Regions from separate parts of the Homo sapiens genome. Here regions 1, 3, 4, 5 and 6 are each linked to region 2. Evidence: promoter capture Hi-C in human tissues and cell types (Jung and others, 2019). All regions are on one chromosome and are shown on one strand. Each heading gives the region's core, a stretch centred on a gene start or on the middle of the fragment in contact. The rest is flanking DNA. Distances are from core to core; before and after follow the strand shown.

Region 1 (3,781 bases), core at 522-3,021, 320 kb before region 2:
AACCCGAATGTGTCTCACTTCAAAGCCATGAACTCTGTCTCCCCTGCACCTCATCATGGTTATAAGTTACAGGCATATCCATTGGTGGGGAAACCTGTTTTTTTTTTCTTGCTACTACTCACTAGAGACTTGTGGTTAACATTCATGAATATTGTGAGGGCAATTTCACAGAACAAATCAAATTGACATGTTAGAACTATTTAGAAGGGCATATAGTTTGGAAATACTCTAAGTCCCTCCCCCAAATCTTAGAAGAGTGTCCCCCAGCATTTTGCACATAGTATTCCAGCTCGTTTTTTTGAGTAAGCATTAATGTTATATTATAGTTATAGCTGCATTTTTTTCCCCTAAGCAACCCTTTCTCTTCTGAACCCTATGGCAGCCCGCGGTTGTGTAGATTGAGCTCAGGAATGTCTTAAAACATTAATTTGGTTTGACATGACTTGGTGCACAAATTAATTATTCAGGCACATATTGTTCCATGTACATGAAAAGAATGAAACTGTAGTGAATTGCATTTTAACTACCACATGTGAATTGTAATGTTATTAGCAAACAGACTATTAAAGAACAAAAGCTGGCAACATATAGTAATTCCGAATTGGGCCAGTCCCACAAAATTAGCATAAATATGTCAATCAATCAGAATAGTTTTGGACTTCCTAGGAAAGTGTCCCTATTCTTATCTAGCTCTAAAAGAATGTGAAATAAACTATTCATTTAACCAAGTATAAAAATATGCCTGCTATGCCGTTATAATCATGTGTCATTAATCAGAAAATACTGCAGAAACTCTGACAAATTAAAAACACAAGGATGTGTCTGCAAGGGTTTTTTTAGCCATTAAAAAGCTGCTTCACCTCTCTGGCAAGCTCTTTTATGGCAACTTCTTACTCAGTGTACTGACATCTTCAAAGGCTCTGACATCTGTCAGCCTTTGAACTACCATTAAAAAATATTATCCCATTTCCATTCTTTTATGCCCATTTTTTTAATTATAGCCCCTCTTTCAAGTTAGGAACATGGTTGGTTTAAATGATGCTGTCCTTTCGTTTTCAGCCACCCAGCTGCGGTTTGAATAAATTGATGTGGAACCAAAGGCGGGACTTTAAAGGGAAAAGGTTTGATGGACTTGGACTCCGAACCAGATGAGGTTTTATGATGAAAAGGGTTTAATCCCAGCACAGGCATTGCTTCTATCAGTTGAGCAGTACAAAGCAATTCATATATATAGGTTCACGTGAAATGATCTATTTTTTTTAACAGCACAGATCTCTTCAGGACTTGCAAATGTGGCATTAGCTAATATTCAGAGAGCTGATTTCCTTTCATCCACCAGAAGCTTATGATTATAGTACAGTTCTCGAATTGGAAATGAGAGCTGCAACACAGATTTAAAGCTGTGCTGTCTGATTTGTATTCAATATACCTGTCACTGCAGGACAGGCTAGTCTGGGCCAAGCTGGTTCAATACAAGGAAAAACAGTTTCATCATCTGAGAGTCTTAGTCAGAAATATCACCAGCTAATTAAAACAGCAGTCTCATGACTATTAGTGAGGTGTTTGGTTGATTGGTGTCTCTTCAAATTTGACAAGAAAGATTTGAAGATGCAGCTTCTCTTTTATTACATATTCTTCTTGCAGTGTAAATGTGTTGAAGTACATTGCAGGGTAATGAAGCATAGGCAGTTAATTCAAACCGTTTTTTTTTTAAAAAGGAAAACAACATAACTTTAAAACAATGACTTGTTTTGCATTAAAATAGTTCCCCTTACTCTGCTATTGATCTGGAAAAAAGTCATTTATGAAAGCAGATTTCAACATCGTCTTTGCCCTGTTGCTGTTGAATGATAAATATTATCTTCAGCCAAATAGTTAAGTAACTGAATGAGTAGTTTAGGGACATTACAAACCTAGAAGATAAACCCAAGTTCACTTTAAAGTAAAAAGTGATAATTTTTAATGTTCTAAATATAAATCAGTATAAATAATCTCAATCCATTAGAAAATTTTCTCAAGATAATCTGCACCTGCTTTTATATTAGAAATCTGCTATTTCTCAGAATATAAAAATCGTTCTTCCATTTACTTGGGAGGTTAGGTACCATTTAATTGTGCAGACTTAATAATTATACAACATTCTTTTCAAGCTCTTCAAATAGGATTTTTATTTGAAACTACAAACTAGGCCGGGCGCGATGGCTCACACCTGTAATCCCAGCACTTTGGGAGGCCGAGGAGGGTGGATCACCTGAGGTCAGGAGTTCAAGACCAGCCTGACCAACATGGAGAAACCCTGTCTCTACTAAAAATACAAAATTAGCCAGGGTGGTGGCACATGCCTGTAATCCCAGCTACTCAGGAGGCTGAGGCAGGAGAATTGCTTGAACCCAGGAGGCGGAGGTTGTGGTGAGCTGAGATGGCGCCCTTGCACTCCAGCCTGGACAACAAGAGCAAAACTCCGTCTCAAAAAAAAAAAAAAAGAAAAAAAAAAAAGAAACTACAAACTAATATCCAAACTATAGTTGGAATAAATTCCGAATATGTATAGTTTTAAATTTGCAAAACATTAACTGTTGGGAAAAGTCCTATAGATGACTGTCTATAGCCTACCTCATATTCTAGAATGTTTCATAGACTTGTCTTTCCCTCTTTAGAAGAAAACCTGAAATAAGACACTTTTGTATAGGATGTATCAGGAAATATATTTTACCTACTCCTTACATATTTTCTGTAGATATGTAAGAGTTTACTGAATTACATGGAAGAAGTTGGATTTCTCACAGTATAATTCTGTTCACTCTGTAATTCTGTTTTAGTTCCCTCTTTTTTATTACCCTGACTAGCTAGTCTTCATTGCTTTTCACCAGGTAGCTAGATATTCATCACTGCAAATAACGCTTTCATGCTGTCTTACCAAATTATCTGTATCTTCCCAGTTTTCCTCCTGCTTCTTCCACTTCTACTTCTCCACGTTAGTTTCTGTTTTCTCCACTAGCTCCTCTGTTTCACGTTGAACACTGGAGTCTACCCCCACTTTTTTTTCTGTATTCATGTTTCTGTTAAGTGATTACCTGCATTTCAGTGGCCTTAACAACTATATGCTAATAACCTTCAAGTTCCCGTCTCTCATCTGTGTTCTGTGCTCTTGACATCTTCTATTAGCTTGTTCACAAACACCTCAAACTTCATAGGTCCAGAACTGAAGCCTCTCCCTCCCAACCTCCCTATGTACCGTACATTCAGTGCTCAAGGCAGAACTTGGAAATAATTCTTGATTTTTTTCCTTTCTCTTAACCTGTCAGTAAATTCTATAGATTCAGTCCCCCAAATTGATCTCCAATCCATTCACTTTATTCACTGCCACCCACTCCTCTAGTCCAGGCCTCTATGTAATCTTATAACTGATAATCTTGCCTTATCTCTTATTTTTCTCAACAGACATGATGATCTTTTTCAAAATGTACATTGGGTTAGAAAACTCCCCTGCTTAAAATCCTTTCATAGCTTGCACTTAGAGTAAAATATAAACTTCTGGCTGGGCACGGTGGCTCACGCCTGTAATCCCAACACTTTGGGAGGCCAAGGAAGGCAGGCAGATCATGAGGTCAGAAGTTAGAGACCAGCCTGGGCAACATGGTGAAGCCCTGTCTCTACTAAAAAAAGTACAAAACATTAGCTGGGCATGGTGGCAGATGCCTGTAATCCCAGCTACTTGGGAGGCTGGGGCAGGAGAATCACTTGAACCCAGGAGGCGGAGGTTACAGTGAGCCAAGATTAT
Region 2 (3,654 bases), core at 635-3,134:
GGCGCACAGTCCTGCCACCTGCCCCTTTCCAGCAGATCATGGGTGGTGGATCTTCCTCCTCTTTTTTTCTTTTCTTTTTTTTTTTTGAGATGGAGTCTTGCTCTGTCGCCCAGGCTCACTGCAACCTTAACCTCCTGTGTTTAAATGATTCTCCTGCCTCAGCCTCCCGAGTAGCTGGGACTACAGGCGCCCCCCACCACGCCTGGCTAATATTTGTAGTTTTAGTAGGGACAGGGTTTCACTATGTTGGCCAGGCTGGTCTCGAATGCCTGACCTCAGGTGATCCGCCTGCCTTGGCCTCCCGAAGTGCTGGGATTACACGGGTGAGCCACCACACCCAGCCTCTTCCTTCTCTTTTTCTATGGATACCTAGATAGAGCCACAATTCTTGCATGTTTTAAAGTTCTGAAGGCCTAATGACAGGCCATCTCGCATTTAAAAGGGCTCGTCATCCATTAAGTTGGAGAGTAAGAGCCTTGCACAGCTCTGAGGCCAGGACTCTGCCTTTCACTTCTTGGATCTCTTTGGTTCACACCTTTATGTGTGTGTGTGTGTGTGTTTTTTTTTTTTTTTTTTGAGGGAGTCTCGCTTTGTCACCCAGCCTGGCGTGCAGTGGTGCCATCTTGGCTCACTGCAACCCCCCCACCCCCGTCTCCTAGGTTCAAGCGATTCTCCTGCCTCAGCCTCCCGAGTAGCTGGGACTACAGGCACGTGCCACCACACCCGGCTGATTTTTGTATTTTTAGTAGAGACGGGGTTTCGCCATATTAGGCAGGCTGGTCTCGAACTCCTGACCTCAGATGATCCTCCAGCATGGGCCTCCCAAAATGCTGGGATTACAGGCATGAGCCACCGTCCCCGGCCCTTTGTTTTTTAAAAGGAAGAAAAGTTAATTATTCGCTCATAACATAAGGAATCATTCTATAGCAGCAGCAGAATAAATACACAATGCTCTGGGTTTGTGACATATTTTCTCATTTTAACGGAGAAGAGAAGGTTGTGTGTGCCTTATAAACGTTTTTGGGCAAATGTGGGAGAAATTCAAAGGTGACAATGGGGTGAGGAGTTTTCGATACATTAAAACGGCATGCATGCCTTGTCGTTTGGAGTGGGAAAAAAGATATTCCTATCGGTTTAATATGTAACATATGGCAGAAGAGGGGACTTTGGAAGAGTAACGGGTATGCAGTTGTTTGGGAGAGATGGCCAATGTGTGCCGCTACGAGGGTCTTATGGCCAGCAGGTTAGGAAGCTGGACCTAGGTCTTCAGGGCACTGAGGTATGCCTCCTAACTGGTGTTAGCACTCAGGCCTATACTGGCGGATTCACACCCCACTTTCACACATGCACAAACGCAATTCATCCACCAACTGCAGTCCTATATTTACCCGAACTCAGATGCACGTGCACAAGCGCGCACAGGCATGCACACGCCTCCAGCGGCTGGGCCCGAGTCCGCCCTATGACAGCGGGCCAGCCAACCCCAGGGCCGGAACTCCCTTTATAAAGTCCTCCAAGCCCAAATTCCCAGGGAAACTTGAATAGAGGTAGAAAAGCGTTTGATGATAGAAAAAAAAAAATCTGCTTGCTTGCAGTTCTTGCGATGGCCATAATGCTACCAGAAACTGTTGCATTCCAGAGCCGGGGAGAGCGAGGGCAGGCAGGGGGAGGAGGCGGGAGCAAAGAGGCCGGAGAACTTAAAAGAAGAAATCAGAACTCGGGCTGAGAATGCCCTCGGGGCCGCGGGGGGCTGGCAGGGGGCGGAGGAGAGGCCGGGGAAGGGTTAACGCGGGAGCGGAGCGTGCGGCGGGGGCGGGCCGGGGCGGGGCGGGGCGGGCGCGGGGCGCTGTCCCTTTAAGGCGGGCGGCGCGGGCCGGCCGAGCGCGGCTGTGATTGGCGCGGCGGGATCACTGGCTCCGCGAGCCTGGCCCGGGGGAGTCGGCTGGAGCCGGCTGCGCTTTGATAAGGTCCTGGCAACTCAGTAACAGCCCGAGAGCCGGGAAATAAAAATAACCCCTCAGAGCGATGGATTTCGGGGCCGCCCGGCGGCCGAGGCGCCCGCCGAAGGCCCTGCTGTAAAAGGTGGGGGTGGAAGCTCGGCCCCAGCGGAGCCGCTTCAAAGAAAGCCCCCCTCTTACAGGGGGCGAGGTCGCGCCGAGCCGCGGCGTGGGCGCGGGGGGCGGGAGGGGGCCCGGCCAGGCGGAGGCCGGGCCTGGAGGGGGGCGCGGGCGGGGCGGCCCTGCGGAGCGGTGGCGGGGCTGCGGGGGGCGGCCCGGGGCGCGGCCGGCGCGTACCTCCCTTTCAGGACCGTGCGCTCGGCTCGCGCCTTTGAAGTGCACAGTTAAATCCACAGCGCAGTTTTTGTTGGAAGCGCCCGGAGGACATTTGGTGCGCCGAGTGACTGCTGGAAACAGGACCTGCGTTGAAAGCCGGGCCGGGCGGGGGCGGAGGCCCGCTCGGATCTTTTGCATAAAAGGGGCGGCGGGGCGCGCCGTTCCCCCTCCCCGGCCGGTGGCTTTCGCTCTGAACCCGGGATTGTTGTTTCCCGCACCCCCTCCCCCGCCGCACGACTCCCCATGTTCCCCGACGCCGCGGCCGGCCCGGGGGGGCCCGGGGCTGCCGCCGCGAGCCGAGCCGGGGGCCGGGGCCGGGCCCCTGCCAGGGGCGCCTGCGAGGTCTCGCCGCCGAGCGCGCGCGGGGATCAATGGTGAGTGCCGAGGCCGAGGCGGCCGGGCGGACCGCGCGCTTTGATGTGCGGGGCGGCCCTTTGAAGTTGGCAGGCCGGCTATTTCGGGGCGCGCTAGGGGCCGGCGCGGAGGGGAGCGGCGGACCCGGCGCCCAGCGTTCCGGGGGGCTTGGCCGGGCAGCCTTGCGCGCCCTGCGCCGGAGCCCCCTCCCCAGCGCGGTGACCGGGTTGGCGGGGGGCCCAGAGAGGAGACTTATCCGAGTGGCGGCAGTGGCGGGGGCGGAGAGGGGGCAGATACCCCCCGGGGGTCGCGTCGCTGTCGCGGTTATGGATGTGAGTCGGCGTGTGAGTGCGCGCGGGAGTGCCTTTGGGAGGTGGGATGAAAGGGTAGCGGCGCCCCCCGCTTGCCCTCCCCCGCCCCCCGCCTCTCCTCCGCCCCATCCTCTCCTCCTACTTCTCTTCCCCCTCCCCTTTTCCCCTCCCTGCCGCGGGTCCGCGCTAAGGGGCCCACAGCGCTGGCGGAGGCTCAGTCTGCGCGCAGGACCGGCCCAAGTCCGGGGCGCCCGTGTCCCTCGCGTCCCTCCTCCCGGCCCGGGCCCCTCGCCCGTGGCCGCCCCGGCCCCTTTTGCGGAGAGGCAGAGACTCCGCGCGTCGCCATTTCTGGACTAGGCTGCTGCTTTCTGTGCTTTTTCTGCGGGCGCCTCTGCAAACGGCGGCGCCGGGGACCGACCCCCCGCCCGGGCTCGGGGCGCTGCTGGCGTGTCCCGGGGTTCCGGCCTCGAGGTGTGCCCGCCAGGGCTCTGGAGGCGTTCAGTTGCATTTGGGCCGGGGGACCGGGCCGGAGGGGCTCGGAGGACATGAGAGCCTGGCTTCGGCGGCCTTCGTCTTCCAGGTAACGGGGCCGCTCCACCTCCCACCGCCCGGGTAGCGCGGTGCCAACGGCAGCCCCACTTCTCCGTGGGCCGCGC
Region 3 (3,424 bases), core at 618-3,117, 390 kb before region 2:
ATCCCTAGATTACATTAACAAGGATCAAAAGTAGATGAATAGCAAGAGTTGGAGAAGCAAAATATACTAAAACTCTTTGTCATAAATATGTGAGACTCATAAGATTCTTAAAATTAGGGAAATGTAGGTAAAAATAATTTTGTAATGTTTAAATATGAGCATTAATAAAATTAACAAGTTGTACATTCTCATAAAAGTCTTGAAAAGTTAAAAAGCAAAGCTTGAGAGGAGAGGCTGCCAAAGGAACAGAAGCAGAAATACAACAAAATGTCCAAAATAAGATAGAGTATATAATTGTAATAATAAACATTAATAGGTTAAATTTTTCTAGTAAAATGGTATTGATTAGAAGACTGAAATCCATAAATATACTATTTATAAAACTAATAACTAAAATAAAGTTAACACAAAAGTTAGAATAAATGGATGATGAAAATATATCACTTATATTCAGAAAAAAAGGAAAGTAGGATTGTAACACTATCATACAAATTAAATCAATACAAGTCAATAAACTGGACAAAGGGATATATTTTTGCATGCTAAAGGCAAGAGTACTCAATCGAAATATGAAAAGATGTTAGGAACACATGGAGAAATGGACATAGATAGTCATGGGATGTTTTCATATATTTTTCTCCATCTCTGACAGGTCAATGGGTAAAATCCAAATGGGGTGTAACTAACAAATTATATGACAGCTATATTTTGACTTTTTCTTTTTTAGCGTTTTATTTTTTTACGTTTACTTTTGTAGATATATGTTTCCATTTTATTCCAATAAGTACAGTAGTCCCACCTTATCCAAAGTTTCACTTTCCATGGTTTCAGTTACCTTCCATCAACCACAGTCCAAAAATATTAAATGGAAAATTCCAGAAATAAAGAATTCATAAGGTTTACATTGTGCACTGTTCTTAGTAACATGATGAAATCTCATGCCGTCCTGCTCTGTCCTACCCAAGGCATGACTCATCCTTTTATCCAGCATATCCATGCTGTATACCCTACCTGCCCTATACAATGCAGCTATATAGCAAAAACCATAGTGCATATAGGGTTTGTTACTATCCAAAGTTCAGACATCCACTGAGGGTCTTAGAACATATAAGGAGGGACTACTGTACCTAGGAGTGGAATAGCTGATCAAGTTTAACATTTTTATTTTTATGTATATATTTTTAAATTTTTTATTTTTTTATTTCAATAGGTTTTTGGGGCACAGGTGGTGCTTGGTTACATGAATAATTTCTTTAGTGGTGATTACTGAGATTTTGGTGCACCCATCACCCTAGCGGTGTATACTGTATTCAATGTATAGTCTTTTAACCCTCACCTCCCCCACCCAAAGTCTTCCCCCTGAGTCCCCAGAGTTTATTGTATCATTCTTATGTGTTTGTGTCTTCATACCTTAGCTCCCACTTATGAGTAAGAACATACGATGTTTGGTTTTCCATTGATTTAGAATAATGGTCTCCAGTAACATCCAGGTTGATGTGAATGCCATTATTTTGTTCCTTCTTATGACCAAGTAGTATTCCATGGTGTGTGTGTGTGTGTGTGTGTGTGTATGTATGTATGTATATATATCATAATTTCTTTATCCACTCGTTGACTTACGGGCATTTGGGCTGGTTCCATATTTTTGCAATTACAAATTGTGCTGCTATAAACATGCATGTGCAAGTATCTTTTTCATATAATGACTTCTTTTCCTCTGGGTAGACACCTAGAAGTGGGATTGCTGAATCAAATGGTAGATCTACTTTTAGTTCTTTAAGGAATCTCTACAGTGTTTTCCATAGTGGTTGTACTACTTTACATTCCCACCAGTATTTGATATAATTTCGATTTTCTTAAATTTACTGAGACTCGTTTTGTGGCCTGTTATGGTCTATCTTGGGGAATGTTCCATGTCCTTCTGAATAGAATGTATATTCTGCAGTTGTTGGGTAGAATGTTCTGTAAATATCTGTTAAGTCCATTTGTTGTAGGGTATAGTTTAAGTTCATTGTTCTTGTTGACTTTCTGTCTTGATGACCTGTGTAGTGCTGTCAGTGGAGTATTAAACTCCCCCACTATTATTGCATTGCCACCTGTCTCATTTCTTAGGTCTAGTAGTAATTGTTTTATACATTTGGGAGCTCCAGTGTTAGGTGCATTCATATTTAGAATTGTGATATTTTCCTGTTGGACTAGTCCTTTTACCATTATATAATGTCCCTGTTTGTCTTCTTTAACTGCAGTTGCTTTAAAGTTTGTTTTGTCTGATATAAGAATAGCTACTCCTGCTCGCTTTTGGTGTTTATTTACATGGAATATCTTTTTCTACCCCTTTACTGTAAGTTTATGTGAGTCCTTATGTGTTAGGTGAGTCTACTGATGACAGCAGAAATTTGGTTGGTGAATTCTTATCGATTCTGCCATTCTGTATCTTTTAGGTGGTGCATTTAGGCCATTTACATTCAATGTTAGTATTGAGATGTGAGGTATTATTCTATTCATCGTGCCATTTGTTGCCTGAATACCTACTGTTTTTTAATTATGTTATTGTTATATAGGTCCTGTGAGATTTATGCTTTGGTGTATTTAGAGGATTTGTTTGAAGATTTAGAACACCTTTTAGCAGTTCATTTAGTGGTGGCTTTGTATTGGCGAATTCTCTCCGCATTTGTTTTCTGGAAAAGACTATGTCTTTTCTTCATTTATAAAGCTTACTTTCGCTGGATACAAAATTCTTGGCTAATAATTGTTTTGTTTAAGGAAACTAAAAATAAGACCCCACTCCTTGCCAGCTTTTAGGGTTTCTGCCAAGAAGTCTGCTGTTAATTTGATAGGTTTACCTTTCTAGGCTACCTGATACTTTTGGCTCACAGCCCTTAAGATTCTTTCCTTTGTCTTGACTTTAGATAACGTGATGACTATGTGCCTAGGCGATGATCTTTTTGTGATGAATTTCCCATGTGTTCTTTGTGCTTCTTGTATTTGCATGTCTAGGCCTTTAGCAAGGCTGGGGAAGTTTTCCTAAATTATTCCCTCAAATATGTTTTCCAAACTTTTAGCTTTCTCATCTTCCTCAGGAACACCAATTATTCTTAGGTTTGGATGTTTAACTTAGTCCCAAACTTCTAGGAGGCTTTGTTCATTTCTTAAAAATCTTTTTTCTTCATCTTTGATGGATTGGGTTAATTTGAAAGCCTTGTCTTTGAGCTCTGAGGTTCTTTCTTCTGCTTGTTCAATTCTATTACTGAGATTTTCCAGTGCATTTTGCATTTCTCTGAGTGTGTCCTTGATTTCCAGACATTATGATTGTTTTTTATATATGCTGTCTATTTCACTGAAGAACTCTTCTTTTGTATTCTGTATCATGTTTTTGATTTCTTTATGTTGAACCTCACCTTTCTCTGATGCCTCCTTGATTCGC
Region 4 (3,282 bases), core at 258-2,757, 260 kb after region 2:
AAGCAAGACTCTGTCTCAAAAAAAAAAAAAAAAAAGAAAAGAAAAGAAAAAGAAATTTCTGTTGTTGAGGCCACCAGGTCTAACGTATTTTGTTATGGCAGCCTGAGCAGGCTAATACACTCAGGTAAGCCAAATGAACATGTTTCAACACGGTCATTCATTCATTCACTTGTTTGGTCAATAAATATTTGCTGAGCTCCTCCTGAAGTCAAAGGCTGGGCTGGGCTGGGCTGAGTTCATCCGGCATCCTCTGCTCCTTCCACACTCTGTTGTGCTTTCTGGTTCTCAGAGAAGGGGCTGTAATATGCATGGCTCCCACTTTTATCTGACCATAGAACACTTTTGGTGAGGAACAATGCATCCCAAGGGGCACTTTGAGAAACACTCAAATAATGCTTTGGTCCAATGGAGAGATGGATTCTTTGGGTTGTGTTTTACCATAGCTGTTATTTGATTCAGCAGAACTGGGCACCCATACTGGGTATAGCGTCAGGCTGAACACTGGGAAGGTTGAAAAGCAAAGAAAAGATAGGGAGTCAGGAGAAAACACGGCATATTTTAGAGGGCAGGAAGCTTAGAATAAAGCGGACTTGGTTTCAAGGCTTGGGTCTGCCCTTTTTTATGATTGCTGTGGCTTCTGTTCAGTTACCTCTCTGTGCTTCTGTTTCTTCCCATGTAAAATAAGAATATCTTGAAATGTTACCAAGCCTTGAAATAAAATAGATATAAAGGACTTGGTACTCACAGCACCTGACATAAGTGGTAGTCATCACTGTGGTATGCAAAGACTGTTCCCTTCATGGGCAGAAATCAGAGGACATTGGATCTCCTGCGATCCAAGATCTATGAGCAAATCCCACAACCCCCTCCCGATGCCACTTCCCCATCCAGAAACCTGCTTCCTCCAGGGAAGCCAGATCCTGATGATCTCTGGGGGCCCCTTAGAGCCCTTAGCACCTAGGACTGCCTTCTTCTGTAGACTCCATCTCCTACCTTGACCTGTAGAGCTGCAGCTGGGCTGTGGAACTTCATCATCTTTTACTATTAATTCAGTGGTGATCATGCCCCTGTACTGAAGTGGAGGTCTGATTATGAAGGCCTAAATCCACATTTTTCCTAGCATGGTGATGGCCAGCATGTTCTTCTTTCATCTGAAGGAATTTTCTTATAGTTCAAGATGCACTGACGCATTGCATTATCCCCCTGAGGAACCAGTAAGGCTTTTTCAGACTTGCATTTATTTTATTTTTAAATTTTTATTTCTTTTTGAGGCAGGGTCTCTCTCGGTCATCCAGGCTGGAGTGCCATGGTGTGATTTCAGCTCACTGCAACCTCCACCTCCTGGGTTTAAGCAATTCTCGTGCCTCAGCCTCCCAAGTAGCTGGGATTACAGTCATGCACCACCATGCCCAGCTAATTTTTGTATTTTTAGTAGAGACGGGGTTTTGCCATGTTGGCCAGGCTGGTCTTGAACTCCTGACCTCAAGTGATCCACCCTACTCAGCCTCCCAAAGTGCTGGGATTACAGGCATGAGCCACTTCACCTGGCCCCAGACTTGCATTTTAAGAGCACCTTGCCAAGCCTTTCTGCCCCTGTTTGCTTTGCAATTGACAGGGTCTTCCTGCCCATGTTTGGGTTCCCTATTAAATAAAACTCTGTGTCTCCACATTAGGGGATGGGAAGGTCTGCTGAGCTGCAGGATGGAAACACAGCCTATGTCAGCAAGGGTTTGACCTTCCAGGCAAATGTTGCCCACTGTTTGTGTTTCTTTGTCTCCACTATGTTCTGGAGGGACGTTAAAGGAGCACGGGACTCTGAATGACAAGAAAGGGATGTGAATCTATTTCTGCCACCAGCTCTCTGTGTGACAGTGGGCAAGTGACTAAGACCCTCCAAGTCTCTGTTTCTTCTTTTTTAAAAGGGGGTTAATAAGAGGTTATTTTGAGGATTGCCCAGTGTATTGTTTGTAAGGGACTGCCATAATAAAGTACCACAGTCTGGGTGGCTTCAACAACAGAAATTTATTATCTTGCAGTTCTGGAAGCTGGAAGTCCAAGATCAAGGTGTCAGCAGGGTTGGTTTCTTCTGAGGTCTCTCTCCGTGGCTCAGCCAGCTGTCTTCTCCCTGTCTTTTCTTTTTTTTTTTTTTTTTTTGAGACAGGGTCTTGCTCTGTCACCCAGGCTGGAGTGCAGTGGCATGATCTTGGCTTACTGCAACCTCCACTTCCCAGGCTCAAGCAATTCTCCAGCCTCAGCCTCTCGAGTAGCTGGGACTACAGGCATGAGCCACCAATGCCTGGCTAATTTTTGTATTTTTAGTAGAGATGGGGTTTCGCCATGTTGGCCAGGCTGATCTCAAACTCCTGACCTCAAGTGATCTACCCGCCAAGGCCTCCCAAAGTGCTGGGATTACAGGCGTGAGCCACTGCGCCTGGCTGCCTCCCTCTGCTTTCATATGATCTTTACTCTGAGGGTATCTGTGTCCCAACCTCCTTTTCTTATAAAGACATCAGTCATAGTAAATTAGGACCTGCTCTAATGACCTCATTTTAACTTAATTACCTCTTCAGTGACTGTATCTCCAAATGCAGTCACAACTTGAAGTACTGGAGGTTAGGACTTCAACACAAAAATTTGGGGGTGGGGGGAGGAGACACACAATTGAGCCCACAACACCTGAGGTAACAGGGGGAGTGATGATATTACATTGTATAGGGCACATTGCTGAACCCAAACCTGGTGACAGCTCAATGCCTTCAGTCATTTAAGGAGTTTTTGTTGTTAACAATCACCTGCAAATTTCATGCTGTACTGTATGACATGAGGCTACATTTTTAAAGGGTACTTGTAGGCTGGGCATGGCAGCTCATGCCTGTAATCCCAGCACTTTGGGAGGCTGAAGTAGGAGGATGGCTTGAAGTCAGAAGTTCGAGATTAGCCTGGCCAACATAGCAAGACTCCAACTCTACAAAAAATAAATTTTAAAAAATTAGCCAAGTGTGGTGGCAAGCACCTGTGTTCTCAGCTGCTTGGGAGGCCTAGGTGGGAGGATTGCTTGAGCCCAGGAGTTCAAGACTGCAGTGAGCCATGATCGTCACTACACTCCAGCTTTGGTGACAGAATGAAACTCTAAGATCCTGTCTAAAAAAAAAAAAAAAAAAGGACACCCATAAAAACACTTGCTGTTGGAGATGTAGTCTGAAGCATCTTCTGCACCCATCACTCCCTAGTGTGCACCCTAGCCTGCACCCATCACTCCCTAGTGTCCCTAGCCTAGAGTCT
Region 5 (3,366 bases), core at 231-2,730, 290 kb before region 2:
TAGCAAATCAAGTCCAATAATGTATAAAAATAACGTATGTAATCACCAAGTTGTAGAGAATGCAAGGACATAGAAATTTATAAATGCCAACAAATGTCAAATTTAGGGGAAGAGGAAAAATTCCTAAACTATAAAAATTTACCAAAACTGACTCTGTAAAAGACCGGAAAATGTGAATCATCCTATAACCATCAGAAAAATTGAAATAGTAGTCAAAATGTTTTCCAGATATACAATATCAAGCCCAGATGGCCCTACTGGCCAGTTCCACTAAATATTTAAGAAACAAATAACTCATCTTATACTGATTCTTTCAGAGGATGAAAAAGGTAGCATCATTCAGCAACTGAATTTATGAGACTAGCATAACATCAATTTAAAAATATGCCAAGGAGAGTCCAAAAAAAAAAATCCCTCAGGTCAGTCTCTCAAAAATCATTAGCAAATTATTAGCAAACTGAATCCAGTAATATTATCTTATGGAAAAAATTGAATGTAACCTAAGGTTGATGTAACGTTTGAAAATAACCTATAATATAATTTACTCCATTAATGCATTGAAATAATAAACATTGACCAGGTGTGGTGGCTTACACCTGTAGTCCTAGCACTTTGGGAGGCTGAGGTGGGCGGATCACGAGGTCAGGAGTTCGGTTAGCAAGCCATCAGTATCAAGACAAGACTCTCCACCAGCAAAAAGATTAGGACTTAAGAATGGCTTAGATGATCATTAACCCTTCTTAGCAATAATGTATTTTAAATGAAGGAATGCACATTGTTTTTTAGACATAATGCTCACTGAATAAACTGCAAGCTTGTCCAACCCACCTTATTTTGTTGTTGTTGTTCTGTTTTGTTTTGCTTTAGGCTTTTAGCAGCCAGAAGCCATGGTTTTAAAGTTTCTGTCTTTAGTGATAAGCAGAAAAGAGGGATGAGGAAGGGGCTTTACTGGCCCAACCAGAAACAGAAACCAAGAACCCATGACTGTATTCTCTCCCTCAGACACTCCTGAATAGTCTATAACTTTTATATGCACTGGGAAACCAACCAATTTATGTGACTCACTTTATGGAGATATTTGCTTCATCGCAGTATTCACTTCATTGCAATATTTGCTTTATTGAGGTGGTCGGGAACCAAACACACAATATCTCTGTGATATGCCTGTACTGGAAGGGTGAAATACTAGGGAGCCACTAAATATGACAAATATGCTAATAAATGGGAATTAAATTAAAATTGGGTGTGTGAAAATATAGAACAGTATCTACACAGTGATGACAATGTGCATAACAATACTTTGATTTACATTGACAGAGATTGAAACTCGATTTGGGATGGTCTCACTGCTTTTGGAAAACTAACATTTTTGCTCATTTTTTAAAGATTTTCCTAGTGGGCACAATGTATAATATTTGGTTGGTAGTTACACTAAAAGCCCAGATTTTACCACTATGCAATATATCCAAGTAACAAAACTGTACTTATGCTCCCAAATCTATAAAAATGTATGTATTTTTTAATTTTCAAAAAAAGACATTATGGACTTATGGCTTTTGGATGTTAACTTTGTACTAACCATAGTGAAAATTAGGGGATAGAAACGCACAATAACAAATTAATAAAGTACAATAAATATGTACTCTTCCTTAAGAGAAATTCTTAATACTTTGAGATGATACAGTATGTGATAAAAAGCAGACTTTCAAATCAGCTTGAGCTTGGATAAAATCTTTCCAATTCTATTTTTCTCAGACTCTATTATTTAGATGTTGTCACTTCCTCTGTCCTCCACAAATATTAGCTTTTCTTTTACATTTTCTGTATTATTATCTTTCTCTGCTGCCTCCCAGGGAGTTCTTCAATCTTACCATCCTTCCAATGCGCAATTCTATTCTTTGGCTTTAGCTAACTTGCTCTTTTTCCTATCATTTTCACTTTTTCCTTCTTCTATGACATTAATTGCAGCTTCATGTCTGTAACTTCTTCCATTACACTTTTCAGTATATTAAGTATATATATATTACTATTTGTATGTTTATTATGGACTTTTTTTGGAGATAAGATCTCCTTCTGTCACACAGGCCGGAGTACAGGGTATGACCACGGTTCACTGCAGCCTCCTGGGCTCAATTGATCTTCTTTCCTCAGCCTCCTGAGTAGCTGGGACTACAGGCACACCCCACCACACCTGACTCATTTCTGTATTATCTGTAGAGAAGGAGCCTCACTATATTGCCAAGGCTGGTCTTGAACTCCTAGGCTCAAGTGATCCACCTGCCTTGGCCTCTCAAAGTGCTGTGATTACAGGCATAAGCCAACACACCCGGCCTATTACGCACTTAAAAAATTCTTGTTTCATCTGTTCCAATTATACTGCTTCAGATAATATATGTTATTTAGGTGTCTCTTTTTGGTAGTAGTTTTGCTCCTCAGGTTTATTTACTTTGGCCAGGGAGCCCATTTTCCCCTGGGACTATCAGATATCCTGACTGGGGAAGAGCAGAAGCCCACCTTTAGTCCCTGACCTGTTGGATGAGCTTATAGAAGGACAAGATTATGAACCCCAAGACAGAGCCCTTCATTGCCGTACCACTCCCTTTCACAGTTACTTCATCAGGAAAACCTGCTGGTCGGGAATTTACCTAAGCTCCTGGAAGTGAGTGTCTAATGACTGAGTCACTAGTCCTGGGAGTTTGGAGGGAAGCCTTTGGAAGGGGGAATACCCAGGAAGTTCAGAGAAGTCTGTGCCTGTTTTCTTCAACTCCTCACCCAAGGAGGGCTTTGCTTTCCTTGGTATTGACTGACTGATGTCAACACTATGTTGAGTTCTTGCTCCCAACATGGTAATGGAACAGATATGATTTTACCTGGCTACAAAAGAGAGAGACAAGAGCAGAAGGTAAAGCATTCCTGCAACCCACCTTCTTACAGCGGTTTTCTATTATTTTCTTCCCCAGGCTGTACCCCCTTAGGACTGTCTTTATTCCACCCAGGAGCTTCTCAAAATTTGCTTTTGTTATGTTTATTATTGTTATAGTTATTAGTATCTCAGATTCATGCTTCCTGTGCTTTCTCCAGGATTGATTTTGGGGAAGGGAGCCAGCAACCCATCCTTGTCTGCCATGTTGATATCCCTGAGCTTTTTTTTAAAAAAAGAATGTTCTGCCTCCCAAACACATAACTGTTGTCACTGCTAAAGTCTATCTGTTTTTAGAAGATGTATCCTCTATTTCAGAATCTGATTGCATTGACTATCTCTTCTCTTGGGTTCAAAAGAATCATTATAAAACAAAGAACAAAAGGTAAAAGACTGTTTTCACGGACAATTGATCCACAGCTGATTATTGATACACAGATATCAAT
Region 6 (3,239 bases), core at 709-3,208, 320 kb after region 2:
CTATACAGCCTACAGAACCACGAGCCAATTAAACCTCTTTTCTTATAATTTGCCCAGTCTCCAGTATTTCTTTATAGCAGTGCCAGAATACAACTAGGTTTTGCATCTCAGCCTCCACTGACTCCATTTCTCCTTCCCACCTCCACCAGGTCGCATTCCAGGTCCTGTTCATCCCTATCAGGCTGTTCTTTCGTTTTCCATCCCAGAGCCATCATGTCACCCTAACACAGTCTCCTTACCTCTTCAGCCCCATGGAGATTTCAAAAACTTATAGCCGCTTAACTTCTCAGTCCATTCTACAGCTGCACCCAGATTCATTTTTTCAAAGTGCAGCTCCAATCAGCCACTGCCAGGCCCAAAATCCTCCTGTGGCTCCCCAAGGCCTGTCAAATTAAGTCTAAAGTCAGTTCAGCTCTGGGATCAACCTACCTTTACAATATTATCTCCTTCCATCCCTTTAATGAACCAAACTCCTTGTGGTTCTCACATTTGCCCCCATCCCCTCGCCACACTGTTGTTCTTGCCCTACCCTCCAACTAGATGCTTCCTGTTTCTCTCTCTGTCATTTGAGGTCCAACCCAAATTCATCTAGGGATACCCTGATTGCACCGGTGGGGTGATTCTTTCCCTCTGAAATGTCATCATCTCCAGACAATTGAACACATTCTGCTTTGCATTATTTTATTTTTTATTTTTATCATTTTTTTACTTTTTTGAGACAGAGTCTCGCTCTGTCACCCAGGCTGGAGTGCAGTGGTACGATCTCGGCTCACTGCAACCTCCGCCTCTCAGGTTCGAGTGATTCTCCTGCCTCAGCCTCCCGAGTAGCTGGGACTACAGGCGCGTGCCACCACACCCGGCTAATTTTTGCAGTTTTAGTAGAGACAGGGTTTCACCATGTTGGCCAGGCTGGTCTCAAACCCCTGACCTCAAGTGATCCTCCCACCTTGGCCTCCCAAAGTGCTGGGATTATAGGTGTGAGCCACCACGTCCAGCCTGCTTTGTATTATTTTAGTGCATTTTCATGCCCTGACAGCTGGGAAAGTCCTCAGGGACTGAAGCCATGTGAGCCATTCACATCCTCCGGCACCACCAACATAGTATATCCTCAATCAATGGGTGTTGAATGAATGCGTAAGTTACAAACAATGCTGAGACATGCTGAGCCAGCCCATTTATAAGCCACCCTCTTCTTAGCTCTGCTACTAAAAACACACACAGACCATCTCATTTGCACTTTTCTCTCAAGTCAAGCAGTGCATATACATCCCCTCATTACAGATCTATCTGACTGCACTCTCTTCAGACCCAGATCTCTTGCCCTTAGGGTTTCCAGCCAAGTCCCTCCGACTGGAATCGCAGTCTCGGGGCTTAGTCCACTTCTGAGGGTCTTGTTCTCTGTCTTGCTGTCCCCAGTTCTCTGCTTCTAGGACAATCCCCAGGCCCAGGAGCAAAGCCAAAGCTTGGTCCCAAGGCAGTCCCCTTAGAACCAGCTAGAGAGCAAAAGAAACTCTGCCTTCTCCGAGATCAAAGCTTTGTGCAGCAGGATCACCGGTGGCCTAATGCCATGCTACCATGGCAACATGAATTTTAAGCAGTCATCGGCAGAACCTGGCTGCTCTATTTCAACAACCCTGGAGTCAGCCTCTCCGGGGTGAGACTTCCCACAACAAGGGACAAGGGTGTGCCTGGGGAATCTGAGTCACTTTCTGGGGTCAGGCCAACCTGCCCTGGTAACTGACATCCTGAAGCCTGACTCCATAGGGGAGTGGGATGTCACACTTATGTTTCCAGGACAGAATGTGTTACTGGGGAAGACATGAGGGCACCAGCAGCCTCAAGGGCGGAACCCCAACAAGGAGGCTAAAACAGTTTCCCACTTCCGTCCCTTCCAGGAACAGGCTCTTCTATGTCTAGGGATGCAAAGAGGACTGCATAGTCCCCAATCCCAACGACTTCACAAACTTTCAGAAAGATAAATCACATATTAAAATAATACAGGGTGGGTGTGGTGGCTCATGCCTGTAATCCCAGCAATTTGAGAGGCCGAGACAGGTGGATCACTGAGGTCAGGAGTTCGAGACCAGCCTGGCCAACATGGTGAAACCCTGTCTCTACTAAAAATATAAAAATTAGCCAGGTGTGGTGGCATGCACCTGTAATCCTAGGTACTCAGGAGGCTGAGGCAGGAGAATCACTTGAACCTGGGAGGTGGAGGTTGCAGTGAGCCAAGATCAGGCCACTGCACTCCAGCCTGGGCGACAGAGTAAGACTTCATCTCAAAAAACAAACAAACAAATAAATAAATAAATAAAATAATACAGGCTTGGTGCAGTGGCTCACACCTGTAATCCTAGTACTTTTGGGAGGCCAAGGCAGTCAGATCGCTTGAGCCTAGGAGTTTGAGACCAGCCTGAGCAACATGGAAAAATCCTGTCTCTACCAAAAAAAAAAAAAAAAATTAGCCTGGCATAGTGGTGCATGCCTATATTCTCAGCTACACTGGAGACCGAGGTGGAAGGATCACCTGAGCCCAGGAGTTTAAGTGCAGTGAACCCTGATCACACCGCTGCACTCCAGCCTGGGCAACCAATGAGATCCGGTTTCAAAAAAAAAAAAAGATACAGAGTGAAATGTAACAGATTCTCTGATTTCCTGTTAAGCTTTACACTGGGACCACTGATGCTGGTGGCACAAGACAAGCACCAAAAGCCCCACTGAGGCTGAATCACCTGGCACAGGCTAGGATACACCAGAGGACAGGCAGGGAGGCTCATGCCCTGCAGTCTCTCTGGTCATCCTTATCATCTCTGTCCTCCCAGGGTTAGGAGTTTGCAGGAGGACCAGAGCCCCTAACATTCTTGGCCTCCAGAAGAATGTGGTGCTCAGCCCCACGTGGTCTCACTGCTGCAGTAAATGCTAGCACCAACAATGTGAAAGTGTTCCTAACAGTTCCAGCTAGGATGTAAGGGCATGATTATCCTCATACATGCATTATTGGTAGCAATCTAAATTAGTACAGACTTTAAAAAGGTGATTTGGTGGCCAGGCATGGTGGCTCATGCCTGTAATCCCAGCACTTTGAGAGGCCAAGGTGGGAGGATTGCTTGAGCCCAGGAGTTTGAGACCATCCTGGCCAACATAGGGAGACCCCTGTCTCTACAAACAAATATAATAAAATAAATTTTTTAAAAAGACTATTTGGCATGGAAGATTGGTCTTAAAATATGCATACTCTA

What was found. The method cuts DNA at HindIII sites, captures the fragments that hold promoters and counts their contacts. A contact is called where the count stands out against the background at its distance.
Region 1: a fragment that was not itself captured here is called in contact with the fragment with the promoter of AXIN2 in region 2 in 1 of the 25 tissues and cell types used here (heart left ventricle).
Region 3: a contact is called between a fragment that was not itself captured here and the fragment with the promoter of AXIN2 in region 2, in 2 of the 25 tissues and cell types used here (H1 embryonic stem cells and IMR-90 fibroblasts).
Region 4: a contact is called between a fragment that was not itself captured here and the fragment with the promoter of AXIN2 in region 2, in 1 of the 25 tissues and cell types used here (spleen).
Region 5: a fragment that was not itself captured here is called in contact with the fragment with the promoter of AXIN2 in region 2 in 2 of the 25 tissues and cell types used here (aorta and heart left ventricle).
Region 6: a fragment that was not itself captured here is called in contact with the fragment with the promoter of AXIN2 in region 2 in 1 of the 25 tissues and cell types used here (H1 embryonic stem cells).

Annotation. Positions count from the first base shown.
Region 1 is chr17:65,883,422-65,887,202 of GRCh38, reverse strand. The region is part of intron 20 of CEP112 (centrosomal protein 112); the gene reads left to right. All of the region lies in intron 1 of LOC105371867 (a long non-coding RNA gene), which reads right to left. Among named protein-coding and RNA genes, the nearest start is that of CEP112, 310 kb to the left of the region's middle. The HindIII fragment of the contact is 5,519 bases long and covers 1-3,781 here.
Region 2 is chr17:65,559,878-65,563,531 of GRCh38, reverse strand. AXIN2 (axin 2) reads left to right here and starts at 1,884. Exons shown (of 11, transcript NM_004655.4): 1 at 1,884-2,082. RefSeq lists a silencer at 1,721-1,870. The HindIII fragment of the contact is 24,248 bases long and covers 1-3,654 here.
Region 3 is chr17:65,954,556-65,957,979 of GRCh38, reverse strand. The region is part of intron 18 of CEP112 (centrosomal protein 112); the gene reads left to right. Among named protein-coding and RNA genes, the nearest start is that of CEP112, 240 kb to the left of the region's middle. The HindIII fragment of the contact is 5,186 bases long and covers 1-3,424 here.
Region 4 is chr17:65,298,909-65,302,190 of GRCh38, reverse strand. No RefSeq gene overlaps it. Among named protein-coding and RNA genes, the nearest start is that of LINC02563, 160 kb to the left of the region's middle. The HindIII fragment of the contact is 6,261 bases long and covers 1-3,282 here.
Region 5 is chr17:65,854,748-65,858,113 of GRCh38, reverse strand. All of the region lies in intron 20 of CEP112 (centrosomal protein 112), which reads left to right. Among named protein-coding and RNA genes, the nearest start is that of AXIN2, 290 kb to the right of the region's middle. RefSeq lists an enhancer at 2,057-3,256. The HindIII fragment of the contact is 7,184 bases long and covers 1-3,366 here.
Region 6 is chr17:65,242,377-65,245,615 of GRCh38, reverse strand. No RefSeq gene overlaps it. Among named protein-coding and RNA genes, the nearest start is that of RGS9, 110 kb to the right of the region's middle. The HindIII fragment of the contact is 4,622 bases long and covers 1-3,239 here.